Regions from separate parts of the Homo sapiens genome. Here region 1 is linked to region 2. The links are contacts of gene promoters, found by promoter capture Hi-C in human tissues and cell types (Jung and others, 2019). All regions are on one chromosome and are shown on one strand. The core of a region is centred on a gene start or on the middle of the fragment in contact, and the rest is flanking DNA. Distances in the headings are between cores, read along the strand shown.

The links. Contacts are between HindIII fragments. The study calls those that stand out against the background at their distance.
Region 1: a fragment that was not itself captured here is called in contact with the fragment with the promoter of CDC16 in region 2 in 1 of the 25 tissues and cell types used here (lymphoblastoid cells).

Annotation. Positions count from the first base shown.
Region 1 is chr13:114,079,892-114,086,516 of GRCh38, forward strand. All of the region lies in intron 1 of RASA3 (RAS p21 protein activator 3), which reads right to left. Among named protein-coding and RNA genes, the nearest start is that of RASA3-IT1, 27 kb to the right of the region's middle. RefSeq lists an enhancer at 3,300-4,499. The HindIII fragment of the contact is 8,329 bases long and covers 1-5,572 here.
Region 2 is chr13:114,230,675-114,237,233 of GRCh38, forward strand. It overlaps CDC16 (cell division cycle 16), which reads left to right and starts at 4,223. Exons shown (of 18, transcript NM_001078645.3): 1 at 4,223-4,458; 2 at 5,971-6,025; 3 at 6,125-6,222. The coding sequence starts at 4,411. RefSeq lists an enhancer at 4,022-4,071 and a silencer at 4,182-4,541. The HindIII fragment of the contact is 10,274 bases long and covers 1-6,559 here.

The DNA of each region.
Region 1 (6,625 bases), core at 158-2,657, 150 kb before region 2:
GTGCAGAGGCCATAAGAGGAAGAGGCGGGGGGGCCCCGAGGCAGGGGACACAGCGTCTTGAGGACACAGCATGACCCTGACCCCCACGACCCCTGGCAACACAAGTGCCTTCCCGAAGGGCCTGCGAAGCTGCCAGAAATAGGCAGAACTCGGCGAGGCCGTGGGAGTGGGGTTTCCTCTGGGCCGAGTCGAGGGCAGACGGCACCTGCTCTATCCTCACGCTCAGGAGGGGCAGAGGCCGCTGGGCTTGGATGGAGCCAGGCCCAGGTCTTGTCCAGGGCTCTCCAGGGCACCATGCTCCTCCCTCAAGAGGACTCCTGTGGGTTATGAATGACAGAAGCCCAGGCTGCCATCCTCAAGCAAGGCACCCCCCAATCCTCCTGGCCGGGAGGGGCTGCTGGGAGCCCCTGGCACCAGCGGGCTTCTGTGGGCGGTGGAAGGAGGAGAGGGCTGTGCGGGCTGATTCCAAAACTCACTGGGTGACACCACCTGCCCAGGGAGGGCCCAGCACTGCCGTCCAGGGGGTCTGCCTGTCGTCCAGTCTCCTTGAGAGCACCTCCAGCTCCCTCCAGTCTCCACGGCTCTTCAGAGGGCACGGGAGGTTCTGCTGAGGGGCGGGTGACCAGGCCCAGATGTTAAACCCTCCCAAATAACGGGCATATTCAATGTAATTGAAACTTCCACCACAGGGAGAATGAGTCTATGGTGACGGGGTGGCAGGAGGGGTCCTAGAAGGCGCCCACTGTGCTTACTGGAGGCCTGACCCCGACAACGGCTGAAACAGGGGTCTCCCCCAGGGGCCACTGAAACAGGGGTCTCCCCCAGGGGCCACCTCCCAGGGCACGCTTGGATTTCACTATGGGCTGTGCAAATGGCATCTGGTGGGCAGAGTGCAGGGTGTCTTCTGTTCAGTGTCCTGCTGCACACGGTGCCCCAGGGCACAGGGCCGTCCACCTAGAACACCAATAGTGCCGTGTGGCAGAGGGCCGTCCACCCAAAACACCAATAGTGCCCCTCGGCAGAGGGCCGTCCACCTAGAACACCAATAGTGCCCCTCGGCAGAGGGCCGTCCACCTAGAACACCAAGAGTGCCCCTCGGCAGAGGGCCGTCCACCTAGAACACCAAGAGTGCCCCACGGCAGAGGGCCGTCCACCTAGAACACCAAGAGTGTCCCACGGCAGAGGGCCGTCCACCTAGAACACCAATAGTGCTGCGTGGCAGAGGGCCGTCCACCCAAAACGCAACAGTACCCCAGTTACACGCTCCTGGTGCAAATGACCCTCCTCTCGTGCTTGGTGCAAAGGCTGTTAGCAACGGGCCACACAGGAGATGCTGCCACGTCACTCCAGAGACTCACGCGTCCCGAGACCCAAGTGATCCCTAAACGTCTAGGAGGAGACCTGGCCTTGGAGCCAGGTCAGCCAGAAGGTTGTCCAGGCCGGGCCTCCCCAGGGCTGCCCAGTCTCCCGATGCAGTATAACTCTCAAGGCGCGGGGGCCGCATCACCCAGCACTCTGGAAATGCTGTCCGCAGACCACGGCCACCAGCACATGCACTCTCGTGGTTCTGACTGCCTGTGAATCCAGCTGGTCTACAATGAGCCGCTGGGGAAAATACTTCAAGTCCTGAGATGAATGGAGCAGGAATGCCTCTGGAATATCCTGAGAAACACGACTCCAAACCCTGTCAGCTGGTTCTAACTGTGCTCACTCTTATAAACAGGTAATAAAATATGGGAAAGAAGGCGATTGCAGACAGGGGACCTCTCCTCCACAGAGACGTGTCCACCAGGAGACTGAGGCAAATCCTATGGGTTCAAAACCGAAGTTTCACTGGCGGCTGAAAACACCCAGGGAATAACGAGGAAAGAGAAGGCAAAGGTGGGCTGAAATGAAGCCGCCCTTCTGAGTTCACAAAGGAGCAGAGACACACCGGTGCTGCACAGGAACCCCCAGGGCCCCCGTGTTCCTAGCGCAGCAGAGCCTGCCCCGCATCCAGGCTGCATCTCCTGGGGCTGTGACTCCTCTCCTGAGTCCACACACAGGACCTCACACCTGCACTCACCGGCTGCAGCTGCACACACAGGAGAGCTTCTCACAGGACAAATGCCTGGACCCCACCCAGAGATTGCCATTCTTTGACTAGGACGGGCTCCAGGCAGTAAGAACAGACATTCGTCTTGATTAGAAAGCCTGCAGGTGGTTCTGGGTGCAGCCAGGACTGAGAGGCATTACTTACTGCTGAGAACTGAGAAGGTGTGAAGATGCCCCTACCTCCTCGCCCCACTCACCGGGGAGCTGCGGGTCTCACAGGGGCAGGCAGGAGGCCAGAGACGTCCACGTCTGAGACAAAGGACATCACCGCAACAGCAGAGCCAGAGCTGCAGCGTCTGCAGGTGCCCTGGTTTGCCTCACGCAGTACCAAATTGGGATTGGGAACCCAGTGATGCCTGCACACATATCGGCTGCACCTTGGGAGCAGGGCCTGAGCCTGGGGAACCCTAGTCTCTTATAACGGGCAGTGGCAACAATGCTGACATCTGCCTCGGAGAGAGATGCTTTCTTCCTGATCACGGACAGTGGGCAAACCTCCCTGTGCTCCGAGGCTCCGAGGCTGCTCCCCGGGTGGACACACGCGCTTGAATGGAGAGTGAGGAACAAAGGGAACTGGGTCTTTCTCCCTTGATGCGCCGCACTGAGATAAAACCATGAAGAACGTCTCCCAGCTGCGTCCCGTCTGGGGGCAGCCCCAGAGAAGGAATGGGGGGCAGGGAAAACAACTTTCCTTAACCCAAGCAACGTTTAGTTCACACCCAGCCTGTACGCAAGAGGGGAAGGGACAGGCCTGGGGCTGCACCCCCAGGTGGGTGGTCCCAACAGAGGTTTAACAACCTGGTTCTCTAGGGGAAAAATGCATGCACGAGCTCAACTAGGTTAAGTCATACATTGCACTAGTGTAAAAGATGTGTAGCACACAACTCACAAAAAATAATGAGATACACAGTCCTCTACTTCAAACTCACAGAGCTAATTGATTCTCACAGCAAACTCTTGTCTCTAAGCCAATCCTGGGCTGCATTTAACCAGGATTTGACAAACAGAGGCAACGCACCCTCTGCTAGCTGGTTCTCAAAAAGTGCGTCATCACTGAGTGTGATATGTGTCGACCATTAAAACATTTCTCCCACTCATACAAATTATATTAAGCTGACATCTCTTCTGGCTTTCACACTGGGAATGCTGGCGCTTCACTCATTCATCAATGTCACAAGCAACTTTGTTGAATCAGGTGAAGTTTTAAATGCCAGAAAAACATTGTCTTAATTTTTTTGTGCTATTGCAGTGTAACCGCTATATACAAGATTATTTAATTCAGGGTAGCAAGATTAGATGATCAACAAAACCTTTGTTCAAACGTGAGCTCAATTTCCTCCGATGTGTGGCCCATCCTGATTTCTGTGGTGTGAACATTCCTGGCCGATTTCAAGCGACCAGTGTGGCCCCAAAGCCAGAGAGAGGAGAGCAGGGCCCCGTTCAGAGGCACCCACACCTCCAGAAGCACCCAGCCAGACAGCCTGGAGCCCAGCAGCAATGGCGTGCCGTGAAATCACAGGAAGTGCTGAGTCTGGAGTATCGACTCCCTTCGTCCTCGCGGGGAAATCACGGGGAAGTGGTGAGTCTGGAGTATCGACTCCCTTCGTCCTCGCGGGGAAATCACGGGGAAGTGGTGAGTCTGGAGTATCGACTCCCTTCCTCCTCGCGGGGAAATCACGGGGAAGTGGTGAGTCTGGAGTATCGACTCCCTTCGTCCTCGCGGGGAAATCACGGGGAAGTGGTGAGTCTGGAGTATCGACTCCCTTCGTCCTCGCGGGGAAATCACGGGGAAGTGGTGAGTCTGGAGTATCGACTCCCTTCCTCCTCGCGGGGAAATCACGGGGAAGTGCTGAGTCTGGAGTATCGACTCCCTTCGTCCTCGCGGGGAAATCCCGGGGAAGTGCTGAGTCTGGAGTATCGACTCCCTTCCTCCTCGCGGGGAAATCCCGGGGAAGTGCTGAGTCTGGAGTATCGACTCCCTTCGTCCTCGCGGGGAAATCCCGGGGAAGTGCTGAGTCTGGAGTATCGACTCCCTTCGTCCTCGCGGGGAAATCCCGGGGAAGTGCTGAGTCTGGAGTATCGACTCCCTTCCTCCTCGCGGGGAAATCACGGGGAAGTGCTGAGTCTGGAGTATCGACTCCCTTCCTCCTCGCGGGGAAATCCCGGGGAAGTGCTGAGTCTGGAGTATCGACTCCCTTCCTCCTCGCGGGGAAATCCCGGGGAAGTGGTGAGTCTGGAGTATCGACTCCCTTCCTCCTCGCGGGGAAATCCCGGGGAAGTGCTGAGTCTGGAGTATCGACTCCCTTCCTCCTCGCGGGGAAATCCCGGGGAAGTGCTGAGTCTGGAGTATCGACTCCCTTCCTCCTCGCGGGGAAATCCCGGGGAAGTGCTGAGTCTGGAGTATCGACTCCCTTCCTCCTCGCGGGGAAATCCCGGGGAAGTGCTGAGTCTGGAGTATCGACTCCCTTCCTCCTCGCGGGGAAATCACGGGGAAGTGCTGAGTCTGGAGTATCGACTCCCTTCCTCCTCGCGGGGAAATCCCGGGGAAGTGCTGAGTCTGGAGTATCGACTCCCTTCCTCCTCGCGGGGAAATCCCGGGGAAGTGCTGAGTCTGGAGTATCGACTCCCTTCGTCCTCGCGGGGAAATCCCGGGGAAGTGCTGAGTCTGGAGTATCGACTCCCTTCGTCCTCGCGGGGAAATCCCGGGGAAGTGCTGAGTCTGGAGTATCGACTCCCTTCGTCCTCGCGGGGAAATCCCGGGGAAGTGCTGAGTCTGGAGTATCGACTCCCTTCGTCCTCGCGGGGAAATCCCGGGGAAGTGCTGAGTCTGGAGTATCGACTCCCTTCCTCCTCGCGGGGAAATCCCGGGGAAGTGCTGAGTCTGGAGTATCGACTCCCTTCCTCCTCGCGGGGAAATCCCGGGGAAGTGCTGAGTCTGGAGTATCGACTCCCTTCGTCCTCGCGGGGAAATCCCGGGGAAGTGCTGAGTCTGGAGTATCGACTCCCTTCGTCCTCGCGGGGAAATCCCGGGGAAGTGCTGAGTCTGGAGTATCGACTCCCTTCGTCCTCGCGGGGAAATCCCGGGGAAGTGCTGAGTCTGGAGTATCGACTCCCTTCGTCCTCGCGGGGAAATCCCGGGGAAGTGCTGAGTCTGGAGTATCGACTCCCTTCGTCCTCGCGGGGAAATCCCGGGGAAGTGCTGAGTCTGGAGTATCGACTCCCTTCGTCCTCGCGGGGAAATCCCGGGGAAGTGCTGAGTCTGGAGTATCGACTCCCTTCGTCCTCGCGGGGAAATCCCGGGGAAGTGCTGAGTCTGGAGTATCGACTCCCTTCGTCCTCGCGGGGAAATCCCGGGGAAGTGCTGAGTCTGGAGTATCGACTCCCTTCCTCCTCGCGGGGAAATCCCGGGGAAGTGCTGAGTCTGGAGTATCGACTCCCTTCCTCCTCGCGGGGAAATCCCGGGGAAGTGCTGAGTCTGGAGTATCGACTCCCTTCGTCCTCGCGGGGAAATCCCGGGGAAGTGCTGAGTCTGGAGTATCGACTCCCTTCGTCCTCGCGGGGAAATCCCGGGGAAGTGCTGAGTCTGGAGTATCGACTCCCTTCGTCCTCGCGGGGAAATCCCGGGGAAGTGCTGAGTCTGGAGTATCGACTCCCTTCGTCCTCGCGGGGAAATCCCGGGGAAGTGCTGAGTCTGGAGTATCGACTCCCTTCGTCCTCGCGGGGAAATCCCGGGGAAGTGCTGAGTCTGGAGTATCGACTCCCTTCGTCCTCGCGGGGAAATCCCGGGGAAGTGCTGAGTCTGGAGTATCGACTCCCTTCGTCCTCGCGGGGAAATCCCGGGGAAGTGCTGAGTCTGGAGTATCGACTCCCTTCGTCCTCGCGGGGAAATCCCGGGGAAGTGCTGAGTCTGGAGTATCGACTCCCTTCGTCCTCGCGGGGAAATCCCGGGGAAGTGCTGAGTCTGGAGTATCGACTCCCTTCGTCCTCGCGGGGAAATCCCGGGGAAGTGCTGAGTCTGGAGTATCGACTCCCTTCGTCCTCGCGGGGAAATCCCGGGGAAGTGCTGAGTCTGGAGTATCGACTCCCTTCGTCCTCGCGGGGAAATCCCGGGGAAGTGCTGAGTCTGGAGTATCGACTCCCTTCGTCCTCGCGGGGAAATCCCGGGGAAGTGCTGAGTCTGGAGTATCGACTCCCTTCGTCCTCGCGGGGAAATCCCGGGGAAGTGCTGAGTCTGGAGTATCGACTCCCTTCGTCCTCGCGGGGAAATCCCGGGGAAGTGCTGAGTCTGGAGTATCGACTCCCTTCGTCCTCGCGGGGAAATCCCGGGGAAGTGCTGAGTCTGGAGTATCGACTCCCTTCCTCCTCGCGGGGAAATCCCGGGGAAGTGCTGAGTCTGGAGTATCGACTCCCTTCGTCCTCGCGGGGAAATCCCGGGGAAGTGCTGAGTCTGGAGTATCGACTCCCTTCCTCCTCGCGGGGAAATCCCGGGGAAGTGCTGAGTCTGGAGTATCGACTCCCTTCCTCCTCGCGG
Region 2 (6,559 bases), core at 2,973-5,472:
ACGTTGTTTTAATGTAAATTTTTGATAAACAACTCAGGAACTGCCCTTTCTTTCCTCCTTAAACCCCCCGCCCCCAACCAGGTACCTGCTGCTGGTTGGGTGCATACTCAGGGAAATTCAAATCTGTGCTCCCAGGTGGTCATCCTCAGGGCTTGTGCTCAAATAAACTCCATGCTAACTCGTATTTTCTGAATCTTTCTATCTAAGGTTGACAAACCTAAGGGGCATCATTCTAAAATCAGTAAACATGATTTTGCTGTAGGCTATTACAGGTATAGAAGGGAAGAAAAGCACAAGAAATCTAACCAAATATAGAGACTCCAGGTCATTCTATTAGAATGTGATGTGGTTTGGATCTGTGTCCCCACCAAAGCTCATGTGGAATTATAATCCCTGCTGCTGGAGGTGGGGCTGGTGGGAGGTGGTTGGATCGTGGGGGTGGAGTGCCCATTGCTGCTGGCGGTGGGGCTGGTGGGAGGTGGTTGGATCGTGTGGGTGGAGTGCCCATTGCTGCTGGAGGTGGGGCTGGTGGGAGGTGGTTGGATCGTGCGGGTGGAGTGCCCATTGCTGCTGGCGGTGGGGCTGGTGGGAGGTGGTTGGATCGTGGGGGTGGAGTGCCCATTGCTGCTGGAGGTGGGGCTGGTGGGAGGTGGTTGGATCGTGGGGGTGGAGTGCCCATTGCTGCTGGAGGTGGGGCTGGTGGGAGGTGGTTGGATCGTGGGGGTGGAGTGCCCATTGCTGCTGGCGGTGGGGCTGGTGGGAGGTGGTTGGATCGTGCGGGTGGAGTGCCCATTGCTGCTGGAGGTGGGGCTGGTGGGAGGTGGTTGGATCGTGCGGGTGGAGTGCTCGTGAAGGGTTTAGCACCATCCTCTACTTGGGACTGTATAGTGAGTGAGTTCTTGTGAGGCCTGGTTGTTGAAAAGTGTGTGGCACCTGCCCCCTCTCTCCCTTTCTCTTGTTCTGGCCAGGTAAGTTGTGTCTGCTTCCCCTTCGCCTTTCGCCATGATTGTAAGTTTCCTGAGACCTGCACAGAAGCAGAAGCAGCTATGCTTCCTGTACAGCCTGCAGAACAGTAAACCAATTAAACCTCTTTTCTTATAAATTACCCAGTCTCAGGTGTTTCTTTTTATCTTTTTTTTTTTTGAGACGGAGTTTCACTCTTGTTGCCCAGGCTGGAGTGCAGTGGTGCAATCTTGGCTCACTGCAACCTCCGCCTCTGGGGTTCAAGTGACTCTCCTGCCTCAGCCTCCCGAGTAGCTGGGACTACGGGCATCTGCCACCATACCCGGCTAATTTTTTGTAGTTTTAGTAGAGATGGGGTTTCAGTATGTTGCCCAGGCTGGTCTTGATCTCCTGACCTCACATGATCCAGCTGCCTCGGACTCCCAAAGTGCTGGGATTAAAGGAATGAGCCACCGGGCCTGGCCTCAGGTGTTTCTTTACAGGAATGTGAGAACAGGCTAATACAGAAAATTGGTACTGAAAAGTGGGGCATTCGTATGAAGATACCTGAAAATGCGGAAATAACTTTGGAACTGGGTAATGGGCAGAGGTTGGAAAAATGTGGGGGGCTCAGAAGAAGACAAGAAGATGGGGGAAAATTTGGAACTTCCTAGAGACTTTTAAATTGTTGTGACCCAAATGCTGATAGTGATATGGAGAGATGGGCAGGCTGATAAGGTCTCAGATAGAGATGAGAAACTTACTAGGAACTGAAGCAAAGGTCACTTTTGCTGTGCATTAGCAAAGAACCTGGCAGCATTGTGCCCCTGCTCTAGGGATCTCTGGAACTTTGAACTTGAGAGTGATGAGTTAGGGTATCTGGCAGAGGACTCCTGAAAGTGATTTCTGTTAAATCTCGCCCTGGCAATATTAATTACAAATTTACCTTCCAGGTACAAAACAAGGACAAGATGAGATTAGTCACTCTTCTGCCTACCCTGATATGGGCTACATAACTCTTTCCTCTACTCCCTCTTGTCAGATGTTTGCCTCATCTTATGTAAATTGTTGGTTTACTGAGCACTAATCAGAGCATCACTGTGGACCCCTCCCTTTTTTTCCTCCTGCTTGCCGTCTCCTCCTAAACACCCAGTCCCCATAACCCTATTTGGATGGCACAGTTGATGCTTCTGTGGCTTGCGTTTTTCCCGGGCCCATCATCAGACTTCTACTGATGGAGACATTTGCCTCAGTCACTCATTTTTGGTTAACTAGGAATCTCATTAAATGGATAGAAGTCGTTGAAAATATGGCTTAAAACACACCTCACCACATGCCTGCCCCAAGTTAATGAGCAGAGTTGATTACTGCCTGCTTGCAGAAGTGGGAAAGGAGGAGGAAAAGGAAATATACAGGGGGACAAATTTTTAAACACAACTTCAAAATATTACCCAGTCATATATGTATACACACACATAGAAAATTACACGGCAGATTACTTACAGTAGCGTGAGAGAATTTTTGAGTGGGTGGGATTCTTTACAGCAAGTTTTTTTTTTTTTGCTTCTTTGAATTTTTTTTACTCTTTTAGGTTTTTATATTTATAAAAGTTATATTTACTTTTTAAAAGTGTCAACCTTAATATTGAGATTCAGAAATATGATTACATATAGTGTGTATTTGAGCACAGAGCCTGAGAATGGCCACCTGGACAAATGGGGTCAGCCTTTCCAAGTGGAGCTCAGGTCTCTCTTACCAGGCGGAGACAGAAGCTCCAGCAGGATCACCACAGTTCTCATATGAGACCAGGGGCACACGCCGCAGCGGTTCCATTGGTTAGGGATCTCTGTATTTGAAGGAAGATTGCGTTATAACTCCATGAGGAGGGGTAGTGATCTGAGGGGGTCTTATCTCCGGTGCCATTTGGTCTTTATTGTTTACAGGGAAAAAGGCAGAAGTTACAGCTGGGTGTGGCATGACCTAGGCCGCGTAGCCACATTCCCCTCAAGGCTCAGGTAATTCAAAGTTCCAACAGCTTCAAGTTTAAATTATTTTAAGTTTGAATGATTTAATTTCACAAAAGGTAATATATGCACATTGACTGAAATTCAAAAGCACAAAAAGATATCCAAGGAAGTACCTCTCCCACTTCTACCATCTCTCATCTTCCAGCACTCCTTCCAGAGGCCTTGCGCTATGCCGGTTTTCTCATTTTTCCTTCCTGGGACAGTTTAGGGATTTTTCTACCTATCATTAAATTCGTATTTTACTCAAATGCAGGCATACGATAAACACGATCCTATACTTGCTTTTTCCCACATACTATATCTTGAAGATCGTTCAATGTCCATGCAAAGCTGACTGTTCTTTTGAACAGCCAGCGAGTATTCCATTACGTGAGCGTATCATGACCTATTTACTCAGTTCCATACTTCATGGGTGTTTAAATTGTCTGCAATCTTTTGCTATTACAAACGAAACCACAGGTCATTTTGCACACATGCAAAAATGCAAATCCATGGTATATTTCCCAAAATAAAAATCATTAGGTTTAACAGCACGAACACCTTTAAATTTGGAAGATATTCCAATTCGTTCATCCTAGAGAGTATACCAATACCACTCACAAAACTTGAGGGTGCCTGCTTCCCGACATTCCTGCTAGCAGTGTCATCAACCTTTGTGATCTTTGTTAACATATGAAAAGTGGTACTCTAATTTTAATTTTTATTATGAATTAAGTTGGACTTTCTTTCGTATGTTAAAGTCTATTTGCATTTCTTTCCCTGTGAACTGTTTTTTGCCTGTCTTTCTCCTGAGCCATTGGTCTCTTCCCACTGACTTATTACATATATGTAAAGGGAATATTGGCTCTACATTATAAGGAAATTCGAATTTTGTGATAGGTTTCAAATTTTTCCCTAGGTTGTCTTTGACTTCATTTGCTGTTTGTGCACACAATTTTTTTTTTTTGTAATGAGAGTGCGTTGCTCTTATTTTTAAAATGTTGACTACATTCTGGGGAAAGAAGGCTCAGCAGCCACCTGCTTTTTTGCCCGGGTGGGTGGTCCGGCCCCGAGCCCTCCTGACTCTCTCGCCAATGCCCAGAGGCGCCGCAGCGATTCCAGGGAGGCCGCGCTCTCGCCCCAAGGCAACCAGAAGCCCACGTGCCAGGAGAGGCATCGGAACCAACAACTCGGGTCCGTTTTCCCGCGCCAGATGGGATTCGTTTGCTGTGGACTTCCGGGGCGGGGCCTGCCTGGAGCGGAAGAGCCTGGGCAGTGCACGGGGCCTGGGTGGGGGGTGCGGGTGTGGGTGGGGACCTGCGGCCTTCGAGTCCGCGGCCTTCGAGTCCTGGGGCGGCGGCGGCGGCTGCAGGCACGGGCACGGGCACGGGGCGGGGTGCTTAGGGTGCAGGAGGCGCGCGCCTAGCGGCGGAGTGTGGCGTGAGGCCGGGCCCGCGCCGCCATGAACCTAGAGCGGCTGCGGAAGCGCGTCCGGCAGTACCTCGACCAGGTGGGCGGCCCCGACTCGGGGTGCGGGGCCCAGGCCTCGCCGGGTCTTTTTCCGCGCGGCGTGGGGCTGGGGTGACTGTTGTCGGGGCTCTTGGTGGGGAAGGACTGGGCCGGCCCTGGGCCTTCATCTGGGGCCAGCAGCGCTGTCTCCGCCTCGCCCAGAAGGGAGCGGTCCCTGCAGCTGGGAGGGGCACAGCCCGGGGAGTGGAGGCCCCCGAGCGCACGGGGCGCCTCAGTCGGGTCTGAGCCTCGTTCTGCACCTGGCGCGGAGGAGGTGCCCAGGAAACACTGACTACTCAGTGCAAGTTGAAGGACAATTTTTGGAGGAAAGTTGCAGGGCTAGCTAATAAAACATTTTTGAGAGGTTTAGTTGTAATTTTTACTGGGCTGAATTTAAGTGAATAAAGATGTGAAGAAGCCTGTTGTCTCAAATCAATACTTTAAAAATTCTCGTTAACTATGTCTGTGTTCTCTGCACTACCTTTGAATAGCAGAGAGCGTTTAAGGCAAGAAGTGTCTTCGAGAATCAGCAGCATCAGTTTTATCTATATTGTTGTTTATTTTTTGTTGAAATGCTTGCTCTTTCAGGAAATTGGAAAGAAAGGGAAAGAAAAGCCATGGTAATGCAGAGTTTTCGGAATTGGGTGCTAACTGACGTGGCCAAATGTTTGCAGTCCATTTGGAGGGCTGTGTTTTTATTTACCATGAGTCAGTTGAATTCAGTGTTTTCTGATCACTTTTTCTTCGGTACGGAGACGTAGTGAGGAATATGACAGGCCCGGTTTCCAGCCAGAGACACCGGTATTGAGCATATTTATAACTATCCCGTTGGCATTCCTCCTGCCTCGGGCTAGCAGCAGTGGTCCTGGCTTGTCTCCAGGGGAACTGAGGCAGAGACTGTAGAAGACTGAGGACTGAGGAGCAGAACAGGGTCTAAAGCTAGCCGTAGGTCACTGTGGGTGGCCCTCATTGTCGGCTCCTTCATTTTTGTTAGACTTGGAGGAGGTGAGTTCTTCCCCATGTTCAGTGAAGCTTAGTTAATTTATGTGTGTGTGTTTTTAAACTTGAGTGTTATTAAAACTGCCACTGTGTTATATAAGGTATTTGAGTATAGTGTTCTGTCTTCTAAATTTCACTTTGGGATTCATTAACAGCTCGTTGAAAGTGTTATATAAATCACACATGAATTGTTAATGACTAGCTTTTGCTGTTTCACTTGCATTTCACTTGTATGTTTCACGATACATTTTTACAGTGTATGAGTTTTAAAAAATTACCTTCATAAGTTGCATATACAAAGATATTACAGGAATGTTTGTATTGCGACACTGAACTAAAATTTACCCTACGTGAGATGTAAGATAGAGATGTAACAAATTGTTGTCTTGAGATGAAGATTTATTACATAGAATTATATTAATATATTACATAGAATTATAATAATATTAGATAACTGTTTAAGACTATTAAAATAACAGGGCAGTTACCACCTTTTTTTTTTTTTGGTATGCAGCAACAGTATCAAAGTGCTCTATTTTGGGCAGATAAAGTAGCTTCACTCTCTCGTGGTAAGTGACAAAATGCTAACTGGTTTTCTGATTAATCTTAAAATTCGTTTTCTATTTCACCTTGTACCTCTGACCACTTATGTGAATTTTTCCCTCCAGAAGAACCCCAGGACATCTATTGGTTGGCTCAGTGTCTTTACCTGACAGCACAATATCACAGAGCCGCCCATGCACTTCGGTCACGAAAACTGGACAAAGTAAGTGATGGTATGAACTTTAAAGCTCTTCAGAGCTTTAAAAAAAATGTCATTAGTGGCCGGGCGCGGTGGCTTACACCTGTAATCCCAGCGCTTTGGAAAGCCAAGGCAGGTGGATCATGAGGTCAGGAGCTCAAGACCAAGATGGTGAAACCCCATCTCCGCTAAAAATACAAAAATTAGCCGGACGTGGTGGCAGGCGCCTGTAATCCCAGCTACTCGGGAGGCTGAGGCAGAGAATTACTTGAACCTGGGAGGTGGAGGTTGCAGTGAGCTGAGTTCGTGCATTGCACTCCAGCCTGGACAACAGAGCAAGACTCTGTCTCAAAAAAAAAAA